5 separate regions of the Homo sapiens genome follow, and all the other regions are linked to region 1. Evidence: promoter capture Hi-C in 16 types of primary human blood cells and fetal thymus (Javierre and others, 2016). All regions are on one chromosome and are shown on one strand. The core of a region is centred on a gene start or on the middle of the fragment in contact, and the rest is flanking DNA. Distances in the headings are between cores, read along the strand shown. Region 1 holds the start of CRYGB (crystallin gamma B). Region 2 overlaps FAM237A (family with sequence similarity 237 member A). Region 3 overlaps DYTN (dystrotelin). Region 4 overlaps FASTKD2 (FAST kinase domains 2). Region 5 has its middle 35 kb from the start of MIR3130-1.

Region 1 (2,727 bases), core at 98-2,597:
CAAGTAGAAAAAATGATTTGGTCATTTGATTCCAGTCAGCGTCTGCCATCAGCCACCCTACTGCTGGCAGTGAGCTCACTAAGAGAGCGTTCATAGTGGTATGGATGAAGGCTATGCATTAACTTCTACTTATTAAGGCTAATCCAGCTATTTCCACTGTAGAATGTCCAATCTGCCAGCAATAGGGACCAACTCTGAGCCCTTTTGGTCCCATGCCTTGAGAAGACCAATCAGCCACTTAGTGGTAACATTTGAGGCAGAGCAGGAACACCAAACAGCAGGCAGGACTCTGGACAGCCACCAGCAGAAGGAGGGATTTAGGCCCTTAGGAAGATCTGAAAGGGGGAAGAAAGCCACAACTATCTGTTTTTGCTCAGGTCAGAGCCAATTATTGAGGACCTGCAATGTGCCAACCCTCTGCTCTAGGGCTCAGGGATAGACATGAACAAGAAATAATACCCAGCCCCCAGAAGCCTACAAAATTCCAGGCAAGTATCAGTTTTATTCAAGACAAGCCCCCAAACACCAACAATGATGATCACAGAATTTTTTTTTTTTTTTTTTTGCGACAGGGTCTTGCTCTGTTGCCCAGGCTGGAGTGCAGTGGTGCAATCATGGCTCACTGCAACCTCGACCTCCTGAGCTTAAGCAATCCTCTCACCTCAGCCTCCCAAATAGCTGGGACTACAGGTATGCGCCACCATGCAGGGCTAATTTTTGTATTTGTTGTAGAGATGGGGTCTCACCATGTTACCTAGGCTGGTCTCTAACTCCTGAGCTCAAGCAATCCACCTGCCTCAGCCTCCCAAAGTCCTGGGATTATAGGTGTGCACCACCTCGCCTGGCTGATCACAGAATTTTGAATTTGAACTAAGCTTTATGGGTTTTAACACACTTTCACAGATTACTTCACTTGATTCCCTCTTCTTTAAGATTCCTTACTATTTAAATTCTGGCTTTTAGAACTAAAACACACACACACACACACACAAAAACACCACCAGTCCCTGAGCAGAATTCATTACTTAGTTTAATGACTTTTGAGAAGTCAATTAAGCAGAGTAAACTATAAAATAAAAGCACAGAGACAGAATTTCGCCCATCCTTTTGCTCAACTAAAAGTGTACTCTATTCATTTTGATGGCAACAACAGCTTTAGTGAATTAGAACAACCCGAACCTACCAGAAAGAATGAGAGTAAACCATTCAGCCAACCCCAGTGACCTGGGCACGGAGAGCAGCGAGCTTGCAAATCCCCTTACTCACCAAAATGGGCCCTTTTGTGTGATTTCCTGTGGAGGCAGCAGTCAGGGCTGCTATACATACAGTGACGTTCCCGCAGTCCCACACAGCAACCAGAAAACATCTGCTCACTTCCTTCAAAATGGGAAAGGTAAGTCCTGGGTACCGGATGCTCAGCCTTGGCCCTAATGCAGTGGCCTCAGTGGGGGCCAATCACTCCATGCTCCCACATCTTCCATTTTTCAGATCACCTTCTACGAGGACAGGGCCTTCCAGGGCCGCAGCTACGAATGCACCACTGACTGCCCCAACCTACAACCCTATTTCAGCCGCTGCAACTCCATCAGGGTGGAGAGCGGCTGCTGGATGATCTATGAGCGCCCCAACTACCAGGGCCACCAGTACTTCCTGCGGCGTGGGGAGTACCCTGACTACCAGCAATGGATGGGCCTCAGCGACTCCATCCGCTCCTGCTGCCTCATCCCCCCGGTGAGTGTGGCTCTGTCTTTGCCTTCCATCTTTTTGGAAATAAAAGCTATTTCATGATATTCTTTTTTTTTTTTTTTTTTTTTTTGAGGCGGAGTCTCGCTCTGTCCCCCAGGGTGGAGTGCAGTGGCATGATCTCGGCTCACTGCAACTTCCGCCTCCCGGGTTCAAGCAATTCCCCTGCCTCAGCCTCCTGAGTAGTTGGGATTACAGGCATGCACCACCATGCCCAGCCAATTTTTGTATTCATAGTAGAGACGAGGTTGCACCATGTTGCCCAGGCTGATCTCGAACTCCTGGCCTCAAGTGATCCGCCCGCCTCGGCCTCCCAAAGTGCTGGGATTACAGGTGTGAACCACGGCATCCGGCCTATTTAATCACATTATTCTTAAATCCCAGCTACTCGGGCGGCTGGGGCAGGAGAATTGCTTGCTTGAAGCCGGGAGATGGAGGTTGCAGTGAGCCGAGATCGTGCCACTGCACTCCAGCCTGGTGACAGAGTGAGACTCCATCTCAAAACGACAATAACAACAACAACAACAACAACAACAAACTTTTGCTTGCTTTGTCTTACTTTTCTATTTGATTATTCCTCCTGAGAAGATAGGATCCTGTCTTCTGATTTCTATTCTAATTTAATGGTCAGTACCTATTAGCTCACTTAGAGGTATAAATTAGAGAAAAGGCCAAATCTGAAACTAAAGTTTGAGATTCCATATTTTCTGGGCAGTGACTGCAGAATTCTTAGAATTGTGGTGTGTGGGAGGCATGGGATACAGTGTCATAAAAACAGAAGTTAATGAAGGTGATACTTGCTGCTGAGGGAAATAAATAAGTTGAGAGCAGGAGGCTAGAAAGGAAGCTTAAAAGTCAGATAGGTTGAAATTTGAACTGAAGGCTGGGTGCGGTGGCTCACGCCTGTAATCCCAGCACTTTGGGAGGCCGAGGTCAGGAGGTCAGGAGTTCAAGACCACCCTGGCCAATATGGTGAAACCCCCT
Region 2 (2,727 bases), core at 100-2,599, 1.5 Mb after region 1:
TCTGCATGAAGGGCCATCCTTATTGTGAATACCTCCGGAGTAACATTCAAGTGTGTGACCTACATAGATGCATGCAACTGTCTTCCTCAAGTATCATGTAAATTACTGAATTGATGGCCTAATTTTCTATCTTGATGCTTCTGCTGGAGAATAGGCTTAGCAAAGAACTAACTACATACATACACACACACACACACACACAATTGAGTGCATGTAAAACTGGTAACATCTGAATAAATTTGGATTATACCACTGTCAGTTTCCTAGTTGTAATATTGTACCATAGTTATGCAAGATGTTCCCATTGGGGAAACTAGATGAAGGGCATACAGACGTCTCTGTATTATTTCTTATAACTGTATATGAATCAAGTATCTCAAAATAAAAAATTTAATATATGAATGTTTGTCGCTAAAATCTCCACATCCAACAAGTTTCACTAAAGCATCAGTGTGCCTCCTTTCTCTGTTATGTTGGATTAGGTTATAGATGCTTAACTTACTAATGCCCAAAGTAATAGCTAACCTTTTTTGACTGTTAGAGCACTTAGTTTTTAAGCACTTTCTATGTGCTGACTCATTTAATCCTCACAAGAAACCTAGGTAGTACGTTTCTCATTTTATGAGGAAACTGAGGCACAAAGAGGTTTAGTAACTTGTCCAAAGTTGATTTGGCCACTTCTTGATGAAGCTGGGATTTGAACTCAGCTTCTGAGCCTATACTGTAACTACTACTCTGTACTTCCTTTCAATAAACATTGTGGTGATTTCAATGTTTTTGTCTATTATCTTGAGATGCAGGCCATGTTACATTCAGAAAGGCTGTGGATTTTTATATGATCTGTAATTCCTAGAACTGTTTACAGAGTGAAATAATGTCTCATTGGATGGGATTAGGACTAGGTTATCCCTGTTCCGTCTCATCCTAATAGTTTTTAATCTGCTTTTCAGCCTATCATAAACTGTTGGTTTTAGTTTTGTTGCTTAGCATAGTTACTCTTCTTTTCACTTCATCCCAGTTTGTTCCTTACACTTTTGGTAAGCTTCATCAGCAAGCTGCAGTCCCTGGGCCAAATTCGGCTTGCTCCCTGTTTTGAACAGGCTATGAGCTAAGTGTGGTTATTATATCTTTTTAAAAAATTGAAAAAGTCCAAAGAAAAATATTCTGTGGCACCTGAAAAGTGTATGGACTCTGATTTCAGTGTCCATAAACAGAGTTTTATTGGAACACAACCATATTCACTCAGTTATGTATTGTGATAACTGCTTTTGTTCCGCCGAGGCCGAATTGATTAGTTACAGCAGAGACTGGATGGCCCAGAAAGCCTATAATATTTACTATCAGACTCTACAGAAAAAGATTGCCAATCCCCGTTGTGGAGTACCAAGGTGAGGGAAGAACAAAGGGCAGGCTCTTCTGCAAGCTCATTCTCCAAGTGTAGTTTCTCTTTGATGATTTATAAGAGATAGTGAATTTACGTGATAGTTTTGAAGAATATGATGAAAAACGTTAGAAAAAGCACCATCAATGCAAAATCATGAGCCTGTATGTTGAAAAAGTAGTCAAAGGGTGGCAACTTTTTAATAAAATACTAATTTTCCCAAGGAGCCAAAAGCTGAGGCTGGGCCTTCTCCCCCACCTCTTTCCCCAAGCTTCCTTTTCTTGTTGTGAAGACTCAACTAATCCTCAAATGAAACTGTTTTCTGATAATAACCCTTTAGATGCAATTTCTAGTTTAAGGAGGGCCCTAATCCTTCAATGAAAAGATTTACTGAGGCTTCCTTTGGACCTGAAAAAAGCAAGGGAATTGCTAACATATCTGAAATTCAAACTGGCTGTCAATCCTACATATTGGTTATAATAGAATGATTGGAGAGTTGGGAATAATTAGAGATAAAAATAGCATTGTGTCTCTAACTCAAATACATTTGCTAATTGGACTTCTCTGCTATAAACCTTGTTCGGGCCTGGTCATTTTTCAGGAAAATAATTATTTATGGGTTCTTCTCTTATAATGCTGTTCGCTTTATTTTGTTTTTCAATGCAAAGTGTAACCACTTATAGAGTTATAATATTTAATCAAATAACAAATATGCTTATTGGGAAATAATTTGTACCTATTTACACTTAAACATTATTTTATTAGAGTTTGGATGTCATTAGTGATAACATTAAATATTGAAATAAAGAGACTCCAATAACATTACCTGGGGTCCAGAGCTTTTATTAATTTTGTTTTCATTAGAAGAATGCTTTATTTGCCAGTTTTTTGTTTTGTTTTACTTTTTGCTTCATTCAGTATTCAAAAATATGCTGTCAAACAAGATTCAGATATCATAGATTGTCAGTAACTAGTAATTCCAAAATGTAGTCCCTTATGTGCCTGTGCATAAGCAATCCAGTGGTTGAAGTCTTGGAAGCCATGCAGTGTATTCAAGTTAAATGTATGGCACACTAGTTTATTAACATGTCAAGCATCCCAAAATGAACTATTAAATGAATACAAAGAATCCTCAAGTCATCTCTGGAAGTTATTTAACTCCTTTAGACTGTGGGATAGACTGGCAGTAATGTCACCATTAGAAGAAACATGCTAGCAGCCTAAAATAAATAAATAAATAATAGAAGGCAGCTTTAAATTAGTATACTGAGAGAATTTGGGTTCATATTTATCTCTGGGCATTCCCACCATTTAAAATAAATAAATAATCAATAGTTAAGAAAAAT
Region 3 (2,727 bases), core at 116-2,615, 1.5 Mb after region 1:
GAAGTTCTTGAAAACATAGTTAAAAAGAAAATTAAACTGCAGAAAAATAACAGACAGAATTACTTCTCTTTGTAGCTAATTTAATTGTGAATTACTAAGAAACCCCAAGTAACTAGCAAAAATTACTAGAATTAATAGGCTTCAAATGATGGTGGAAAAATAAAATAAACATATACAAAATTCTTCACTCTACTAGCAATAACCAGCTATAAATTTTGTAAGAATCTCATTCAAAATACATGTAAAAATTATTTTTAAAAGAAACTACAAAAAAGTTTAACAAAAAAGATACAAGACCCAAATAAAATTATAATATTTTATTGAGTACAGAAAACAAGTCCTGAACAAAAGGAAAAAATGCCAAATTTCTAAATGAGAAGACTAGCATAAGAATGTACCTGCTCCAAAAATTAATAGCTGATTTTTGTTATTTGCAGATTCAATACTTACAAATTTGCCTACTTGCAAAAATTTATTTGTAACCCTAAAATTAACACTCCTGGTGCTTTTTCAGTATTTGCAGACATAAGCAGAGTGGCAAAAAAATTTTGAGTTGCCTGATGCACGTGTTCCCAGCTGAGGTCAAACCAGATAGTGCTCTGTGTTACTGTTTCAGCCCTCATTCTATAAGCAAGTGTCCTTTTCGTGTCTATTTTGTGTCTTGTTTTTTTATATTTGTGCTTTTTGTTGGTGATTTTACTTTGGCAAATGGCCCCAAAGCACGGTACTGAATTGCTGTCTAGTGTTCCCAAGCACAGCAAGGCTACGATGTGCCTTAATGAAAAAATACACACGTTAAATAAGCTTCATTCAGGTATGATTTATATTGCTGTTGACCATGAGTTTAATGCTAATGAATCAACAATATATATTTAAAAAGCATCTTTATACAGAAACACATAAAACAAGGTTGTGCATTGATTGGTTGACAAAAATATTGTGGCCAGAGGCTTGCAGGAACCTAACCCTGTATTTTCTCTAGGAACAATGGGTTCAGTATTTCCTAATTCACTGTTCATGGTAGCCTTATAGAGCATAATCTACTGTATTTAAATTTAATGCATTTCCAGATAGAATCACAAGGTTTTCTAAATAGGATAAAATAATTTTGAAGGTATGTTGGAAGAATAGTTGTACAAGAATAGTAAAATTATGAGACTGAAGAATAGTGAGAGACATTAATATCTGAAGAACAGATGTTAATACAACAGATATTAACACTTACTATAAAACTACTATGACCAAATAATATAGTATAAAACGGGAATGAACATGTAGGTCTAAGGATGAGAATACAAAATATAATAATTGATCTAAGCATATATGGGAACCTAATATATGATAAAGGTGATATTTCAATTCATGGAAAAATAATGCATAATTGGCTATCCATCTGAAAGGAAAATTGGCCCTTATTTTGCCCCATATACTAAAACAAATTCCAAATTGATTGAAATTTAAATGTAAAAAGAATTTAAAATAAATATTAGAAAAAAGAACATCTCCTAAGGAAGAAAGAAAAACAAAAAATCATGAAGGAATAGACAGATATATATGATAGCATGTAATTTTAAACATTTTGTTATGGTAAATGATAGTATAAACAAAATTAAAAATAAGCCCTAGACTTAGAAAAATATTTTCGGTAATAAGATAAATGATGCTATTAAAAGGGTCCCTGAAAAATTGATAAGAAAAACTTGATGTGAGGTCAGAAGTGTTGGCTGCTGTGGAGAATTCAAAACAGGGACCTCCCTGGACATCAAGATGGAAGAGCAAATAGTTTCTCATGCTGGAGAAATGCTCTCCAGTGTGGTGGTCGTATCTTGTAAGGATTCAGTCCCACATCAAGTAGTGTCTTTGACAATGGAAGGAATTGCAATCCCCCAGCTCAGTGCCAAAAGTGTGGGCAGTTTTGAAGCTTTTTATAATTCCATTAAACCTATCCAGATTATCAACAGTGCCATAGAAAGGATGAAGCCAGGGAAATTTCCCTATGGCAAAACAAATTTATTTCGCATTTCTTCTGTATGTGAGGGGTAACAAAGTTCTGTATGAGACTTATTATCAGACATTCAGTATACACTACGCTGTGACATGAGGCAGTCTCTGTTGACCAAGGACTTGACAAAGGCCGGTGAATTTACCATCCACTCTGCTCCTCAGGAGGGGAAGTTGACTCCAAGTCCTGTGGACTTCACAGATTATACCTGCAACCTTACAGAATATCAAAGAGAGAGCCTTGCTCCCCAGATTTCTCATTCGAGAACACCCCAACTCAATGAATTGTGTCATCGTGCAGCTGCTTACAGGAGAGCTGGTGGTGAAAAGGCATGGGGCTGCAACTGGTGCACATGGAGACCTGTGGGTGTGCAAAAAGCTATGCCAATGATGCCACAGAGTTTCCTTATATTCAGATGCCCATGGGGACATTTGTAGGGGCCTCTCTGTCCCTATATACATGGTCTTCTCCAGGCTGTTTACCTGCCGCATGCTGAAGACCAACTTCAAAGTGGAATTTGAGGCCACCATCGACATGCGTCTTCATGCTAACCACCTGGTCACAGAGAACTTCCTATTGCAGCTCTGCAGGACTCAGCCCAGGAGGAGGGAAGCACAGAAAACAGGGGTGGCCTTGTGGATATCCTGCTGGTTATCGTTCATGGGGAACTAAAGCCAGCAGTATATACTTGTTTTTGTGATTATTCTGTATCAGAAATGAAATGG
Region 4 (2,727 bases), core at 82-2,581, 1.4 Mb after region 1:
TAGACAGGCATATTGAACAAAATAGTTGAATTTGGACAAATATTTGAACAAAGAATGAACACACATAATCGAAAAAATAGTCCTCAGGTCTGATTCACAACACAATTCAGCTATATATTTAATTTAAAAGACTTCATGAAATTGTGGGAGGGGTAAGGGGGAAAAAAGAAAGAGAAAGGAAGGACCCCAACAACAGTAAGACTCCTTACCATCTACATCTCATCTGTGTTTCTCTTATTATAACCCATGAAATATCTCTACCTGCAGTGCTTATTACAAATACAAATACCATCCTCACTCATTTTCAACAGCTACCTCACTAATTCTTACACACTTGACAACTTTAGAACTTTGTCCAATTATTATTTGGCCAATGCTTGAAAATGATTTAAAGGCATAACCCCAAGTCTTAGAACAGCTTAGAGCAGGAGTATAAATATTCAGATTCCAAAGACAAGGACTACTACCCACATCAACCTGCCTGTGACACCTCACAACTAAGAAACCAGTTTTTAGTAGATCAAAGATGAAAAGGTGAAACGTACAGCTCACAAATCAAATATCTGGGCACTAGAGGGAATAGGTGTGGTTGGAAAAATAACCCTTCTGGAATTTTCTCAGCATATTTTTAAATGGCAGTAACAACATTTCTTCCACTCCTAAAATTAATTTTAATAGTGAACTGAGGTAACATTTTTTGTCTTAGCAGATAGCTCAATTCCATTGACAACTGACTTGTCATCTTTATTAATTTTTACAAATGCATGTCTCCTAATATGAAAAGGTTGATTTTCACTTTATTGTGTGCTTTGCACATTTACAGCAGCAACAGGAAGAGCTTCTACTGAATAGATTTTAGTCTTCAAAAATGTGACTGCATCTTCCATCTCTAGTTTGTCCATCTCCCAGTTATTGACCTTACCAAAGAAAGAGGAAAATAATCAGTTTGTGAGACGATACTAACAAAAGAGCTAGTTTAGAGATCCAAACATAGTAAAGTAACATGAGGACAATAGCTTTTTGAAAGCAAATGTGACCTTATAACTACTCATATTTTAAAGGCATAATAAGACTACATGCTAGGGTTTAAGAAAGCTTTAACTGTGAAAATTATACAAATTTTAAAGGTCCTCTAAATGGTGCAAAAACTGCTTTCTTGAGAAAATCTTCCTTAGAATATATATAATCAGCAATATAAAAAACAAAGTCTTAAATAGTAGCCCACTAAGAGAAAGGAGTCATCTTAATCTCAATAGTCCACACGTAATCCATTTCCAATACTAAAGTATAATAATAGAAGACTTGGAATGTTTACATCTTACATTATGCGCAGGACCAAATGAGTGGCATTTAGATAGATTCCAACAGCAACATATATATAAATGTATTTGTAAGGTTCCTACTACCTAGAAACATCAGAAGAGGCTGTTCAAGAGAAGCTGTGGGGTACAAAATAAAATTGAAGCATAAGAGGGAAGAGAAAGACCCATCTTCTTAAAACCATCCAGCCTTTTCTGGCAACAAACATCCTGTAACAGCTTCACACAGGCCATGAAAACAAAGCTTTAACATCTTTCCTTCCCTTGTTCAAGATAACCTGGAAATTAAATATGGTTTTGTGTATCTTAAATATGAAAATATATTATTTGCATTCTTCTTCTTAGCAAAAAAGGATTAAAGCTGACCAGAACAACATTTGTAAAAGCTCTAGTAATGACAGTAATCAGCTGAGCAGAACCCAAATCGTGTACTAGCAATGTTCTTTTTCAAAGAAAACAGTAACTAAAGCACTCATTCCAATAATGCTGACAATTCCTCTAGTCCTAGTAACCAGTCTCAACCACAAGATTCCTGGCAGCTGTTAGAATGTACATCAGTAATTAAAGAATATTTCATTTGCATTTTTTTCTCACCAAGATCACATGAAAACCCATTGCATTCAAATGCCGCATTTTCATAGCAAGGAATCCTCTGGGGTGGCTTGAACCCAAACAATAAGCAGATCTGGAAACACATAGCACAGCTACTCTGAAAACAAAAATAAACAAAACAAGAACAGTTATTGATATTACTATTTAGTCTTGCTGCATTCTTGTTCTCTGGAGATTTCCAAGTTGAGCTCTCCACCGACCACAATCCTTGATATTCCTGTCTTAGTCCTTCACTTCTTTTACTTGGCCTCTGCAGATATTCCACTATACAAGGCTACTTTATAAATCAAAAATATACAACATTATACACAGTTACCTCTCAGTTCCCTTTAAGGATGGCTACATTTTTGAAGAGGAAAATTTTCAGACATGAAAGCACCAATTTTAAGGGTTTTCTGTGTAGTGCTGATTTCTGATCTGAGTATAATTATTTATTCTACCAGTAGTAGTAACGGTGTAAATAATACCAAATAGTAAATGCTCTTCTTACACATATCATCTCCCAGAGAAAGCAGCATTTAAAAAACAGAAATAGGAGTTTAAATACAAGAAAGAAAACACCAAGAGAAAGGCAAGACTGTTAAAATAAAATCTGTAAATATAACGAAAATGTGGAAGGTGTAATTTGTTTTTTCATTGTTCCTGGCACTTTGGAAATACTAAGTTTACTGGGAGAAAAAAAGAAAAAAAAAAGACATTTATATCCTTACTGCCTTCACCTATACTCTGGCTGTTATAAGACAAATTTTATGTTTTTAAAGGAATGCTCACATTCTTCACTTCTCATGACTTTATG
Region 5 (2,727 bases), core at 82-2,581, 1.3 Mb after region 1:
CAAATGTTTACATTTTTTCCTACACATTTTACAGAGGAAAGAGCTTATTCTACTAAGAGTTGGGTGACCATGCATTCTGGTTTGGCCAAGAGAGTCCTGATTTATACATGTTATCCTGGCATAATTATTAATGACACCACTATTCACTCTCAAAAGTATCCTGGTTTGGGTGATTATTATGCTCACCCTGGTTAAGAGGTTTGTCCACATAGCTTGTAAATGGCAGAGCCATGGAGAGAAGCTGGGTCAGTCTAACACCAGAGCTAGCAACTTCACCTCACTGAAACCCTCACTGTCTTAGCAGTTCAGCCATAATGATGACTGACTCAAGTCTATTCCTCTGGTATCTGCCAGCTTACATCTGGAAACTGACTTAAGATTTGGAGATGCTCAAGTGTATTAAGACTAGGAAATAAAACTTCAGTAAATTCAGGTTGTATTTCAAAAAGACTGGAAAAAAAACCTGAATTGTGCAAAAACCTGGAAAAAAAAAAAGGAGAGAGAGATGCTATTCAAAGCAAAGTCTCTGAAATTATTGGATAGAATTTAAAACAATCATTTTACATACTTAAATATCAACTTATTTATTTAACTGCTATTGCATTTATTGAATTTACACACTCAAGAGTCCAAGATTCTATCCCTGTTCTCAAGTAAAAGGAACAACTTCACAGTTGATATATCCTTGCTCTTTTCCATTTATTTTACTAACAGTAAATAGCAACATTTACTTCTTTTATGCAACAGAAACGATAGCTTATATTTCCAAAGAGGGTCAATTTGGGTAAAAGGGAAGTCAACAAAAACATAAATTCCTTCTTTCACATTCCTCCCTTCTCCCAGCAGTAGGAAATATATACATTAGCAGCACAGAAATGTAAAGGACCTAAGGATGAAAACTGTAGGGATAATGCAAATAGGATTTCTTATATTTACTCATTATGAGTAGATTTCTTGAGAAAAGAGACAATCACCTGGGTTCTTTAGCTTGTATTAGCTGTTCTTTCCTATTGCTTAAGACTAGGAATTCAAGCACATTCTCCTTAAGCAAATCAGATTGCAAAAAAAAAATATGAACTTAGAGAGGTGGTTGTTTGCTCTTATAAAAGAATCACCATTAAATTATTTTGATAAAATATATTGACTAAATCAAAGGAGGGAGAAATAACTAGCAAAGAAAAATGATAATAATTGAAGGCATAGCAAATTATAAGAACAGAGATTTTAAAAGATTCATGGGGGAAAAAGCAATTTGAATAAACACATAGATGAGAAAGAAGAGGACAAGTAGAAATAAAGCCTTCTTATGTACTAATTAGAGAGTGTGGTGGTGACATTAAGACACTGTTCCCCCAAACTAGAATATACTGAGTGAAGTCAGAGAACCTGTAACTCATACGGGATAAATCCATTTTAGACAGTGAAAAACAGATGTTTTCAGTTGCTCGATTGCCCTGGAGAGAACTGTGGAAGCAATAATGTACACCCGACCTAGGAGACAGTTCTACTGAGTCCAAGGAGAATTTAAAGATAGAGATAGGAAATTCACTAACTCATAAGGGAAGGAAGGAATTGGGTGGACCTCAGCCATCTGCCTAACATTATCTAGAACCACACCTAAACCATCCCAAGCAGATGAGACCTCCAGAGATGTAGCTCCATGATCTCCTCTGGTCACCGTGTTCCGAGGTGGAACACTGGCCAGAATGTTTTCCTTCTTACTAACCGACAGTCATGTGCGGATTATTCTCTCTCATTCTGTTTGCTGTGGAAAGAAGAGCAGGCATGTCTCTGGTCGTCTTATTTTCTTATGGGGTCTGACAGGCACTGGCATTACTCTCCAGTGTCAAGATACCATTCCTGGATGCACATTATCAGGAGCTCCCACTGCCATCTCTAGGTTTATTCATTCGACTCCTTTAAGGCTTTCCGCCTGAAGGGGAATTCCTGGGCTTTAGGAATTAGTGCATTTTGAGAAAATAATTTTTTTTTTTTTTTGGAGGGCAGTGGCGCAATCTCAGCTCACTACAAGCTCTGCCTCCTGGGTTCATGCCATTCTCCTGCCTCAGCCTCCCGAGTAGCTGGGACTACAGGCGCCCACCACCACGCCCGGCTAATTTTGTTTTTGTATTTTTAGTAGAGACGGGGTTTCACCGTGTTAGCCATGATGGTCTCAATCTCCTGACCTCGTGATCGGCCCGCCTCGGCCTCCCAAAGTGCTGGGATTACAGGCGTGAGCCACCGTGCCCAGCCGAGAAAATAATTTTTAAAAGTTAACACGAATGAAATAAAGCCTCTCATAATTAAAAACACATTAAGACAAGACACTTGAAGTGAAACTTCATCCCAGTGGTGGCTCTCCAGGTATGGGGTCCAACTAGGGAGCCACCCAAATCTGTTAGAGTTTGATTGTCAGACAACAGAGATGCAGCAAAAAACTCCAGGCAGGCCAACATTTGATTAAGGTGGCTGTGGATTTTGAGAGCTTTTTCTGTTGTCTCAAATCCTGTTTCGAGCACCCTTTTTGGTAGAGTAAGGACTACTTTTACTAATACTATACATAATAATAGTAATGATAATGATAGAAAATTCCATAGTTACCAATTATTTGTGCTTACTGTGAATGGTAGGCAGAATAATGACATCCTCCTTCACCCTAAAGATATCCTAATTCTCAGGAACTATAAATATGTTACATTACATGGCAAGAGGAACTGAGGTCGCAGA

What was found. The method cuts DNA at HindIII sites, captures the fragments that hold promoters and counts their contacts. A CHiCAGO score of 5 or more calls a contact.
Region 2: a contact is called between a fragment that was not itself captured here and the fragment with the promoter of CRYGB in region 1, in 4 of 17 cell types (activated CD4 T cells, non-activated CD4 T cells, total CD4 T cells and 1 more). The highest score is 6.5, in activated CD4 T cells.
Region 3: a contact is called between a fragment that was not itself captured here and the fragment with the promoter of CRYGB in region 1, in 6 of 17 cell types (naive B cells, non-activated CD4 T cells, activated CD4 T cells and 3 more). The highest score is 7.9, in naive B cells.
Region 4: a contact is called between a fragment that was not itself captured here and the fragment with the promoter of CRYGB in region 1, in 1 of 17 cell types (total B cells). The highest score is 6.1, in total B cells.
Region 5: a contact is called between a fragment that was not itself captured here and the fragment with the promoter of CRYGB in region 1, in 1 of 17 cell types (naive B cells). The highest score is 5.5, in naive B cells.

The regions. Positions count from the first base shown.
Region 1 is chr2:208,144,778-208,147,504 of GRCh38, reverse strand. CRYGB (crystallin gamma B) reads left to right here and starts at 1,347. Exons shown (of 3, transcript NM_005210.4): 1 at 1,347-1,393; 2 at 1,489-1,731. The coding sequence starts at 1,385. All of the region lies in intron 2 of LOC100507443 (a long non-coding RNA gene), which reads right to left. RefSeq lists an enhancer at 1,532-2,155. The HindIII fragment of the contact is 1,715 bases long and covers 878-2,592 here.
Region 2 is chr2:206,648,847-206,651,573 of GRCh38, reverse strand. FAM237A (family with sequence similarity 237 member A) reads right to left here. Exons shown (of 3, transcript NM_001102659.3): 3 at 2,209-2,727. Among named protein-coding and RNA genes, the nearest start is that of FAM237A, 7.7 kb to the right of the region's middle. The HindIII fragment of the contact is 610 bases long and covers 1,045-1,654 here.
Region 3 is chr2:206,686,383-206,689,109 of GRCh38, reverse strand. All of the region lies in intron 9 of DYTN (dystrotelin), which reads left to right. It also overlaps the pseudogene VPS26CP1. Among named protein-coding and RNA genes, the nearest start is that of DYTN, 31 kb to the left of the region's middle. The HindIII fragment of the contact is 1,117 bases long and covers 807-1,923 here.
Region 4 is chr2:206,789,873-206,792,599 of GRCh38, reverse strand. It overlaps FASTKD2 (FAST kinase domains 2), which reads right to left. Exons shown (of 12, transcript NM_001136193.2): 11 at 1,914-2,028; 12 at 1-917. The coding sequence ends at 798. Among named protein-coding and RNA genes, the nearest start is that of MIR3130-1, 7.9 kb to the right of the region's middle. The HindIII fragment of the contact is 468 bases long and covers 1,098-1,565 here.
Region 5 is chr2:206,816,660-206,819,386 of GRCh38, reverse strand. No RefSeq gene overlaps it. Among named protein-coding and RNA genes, the nearest start is that of MIR3130-1, 35 kb to the right of the region's middle. The HindIII fragment of the contact is 3,645 bases long and covers 1-2,727 here.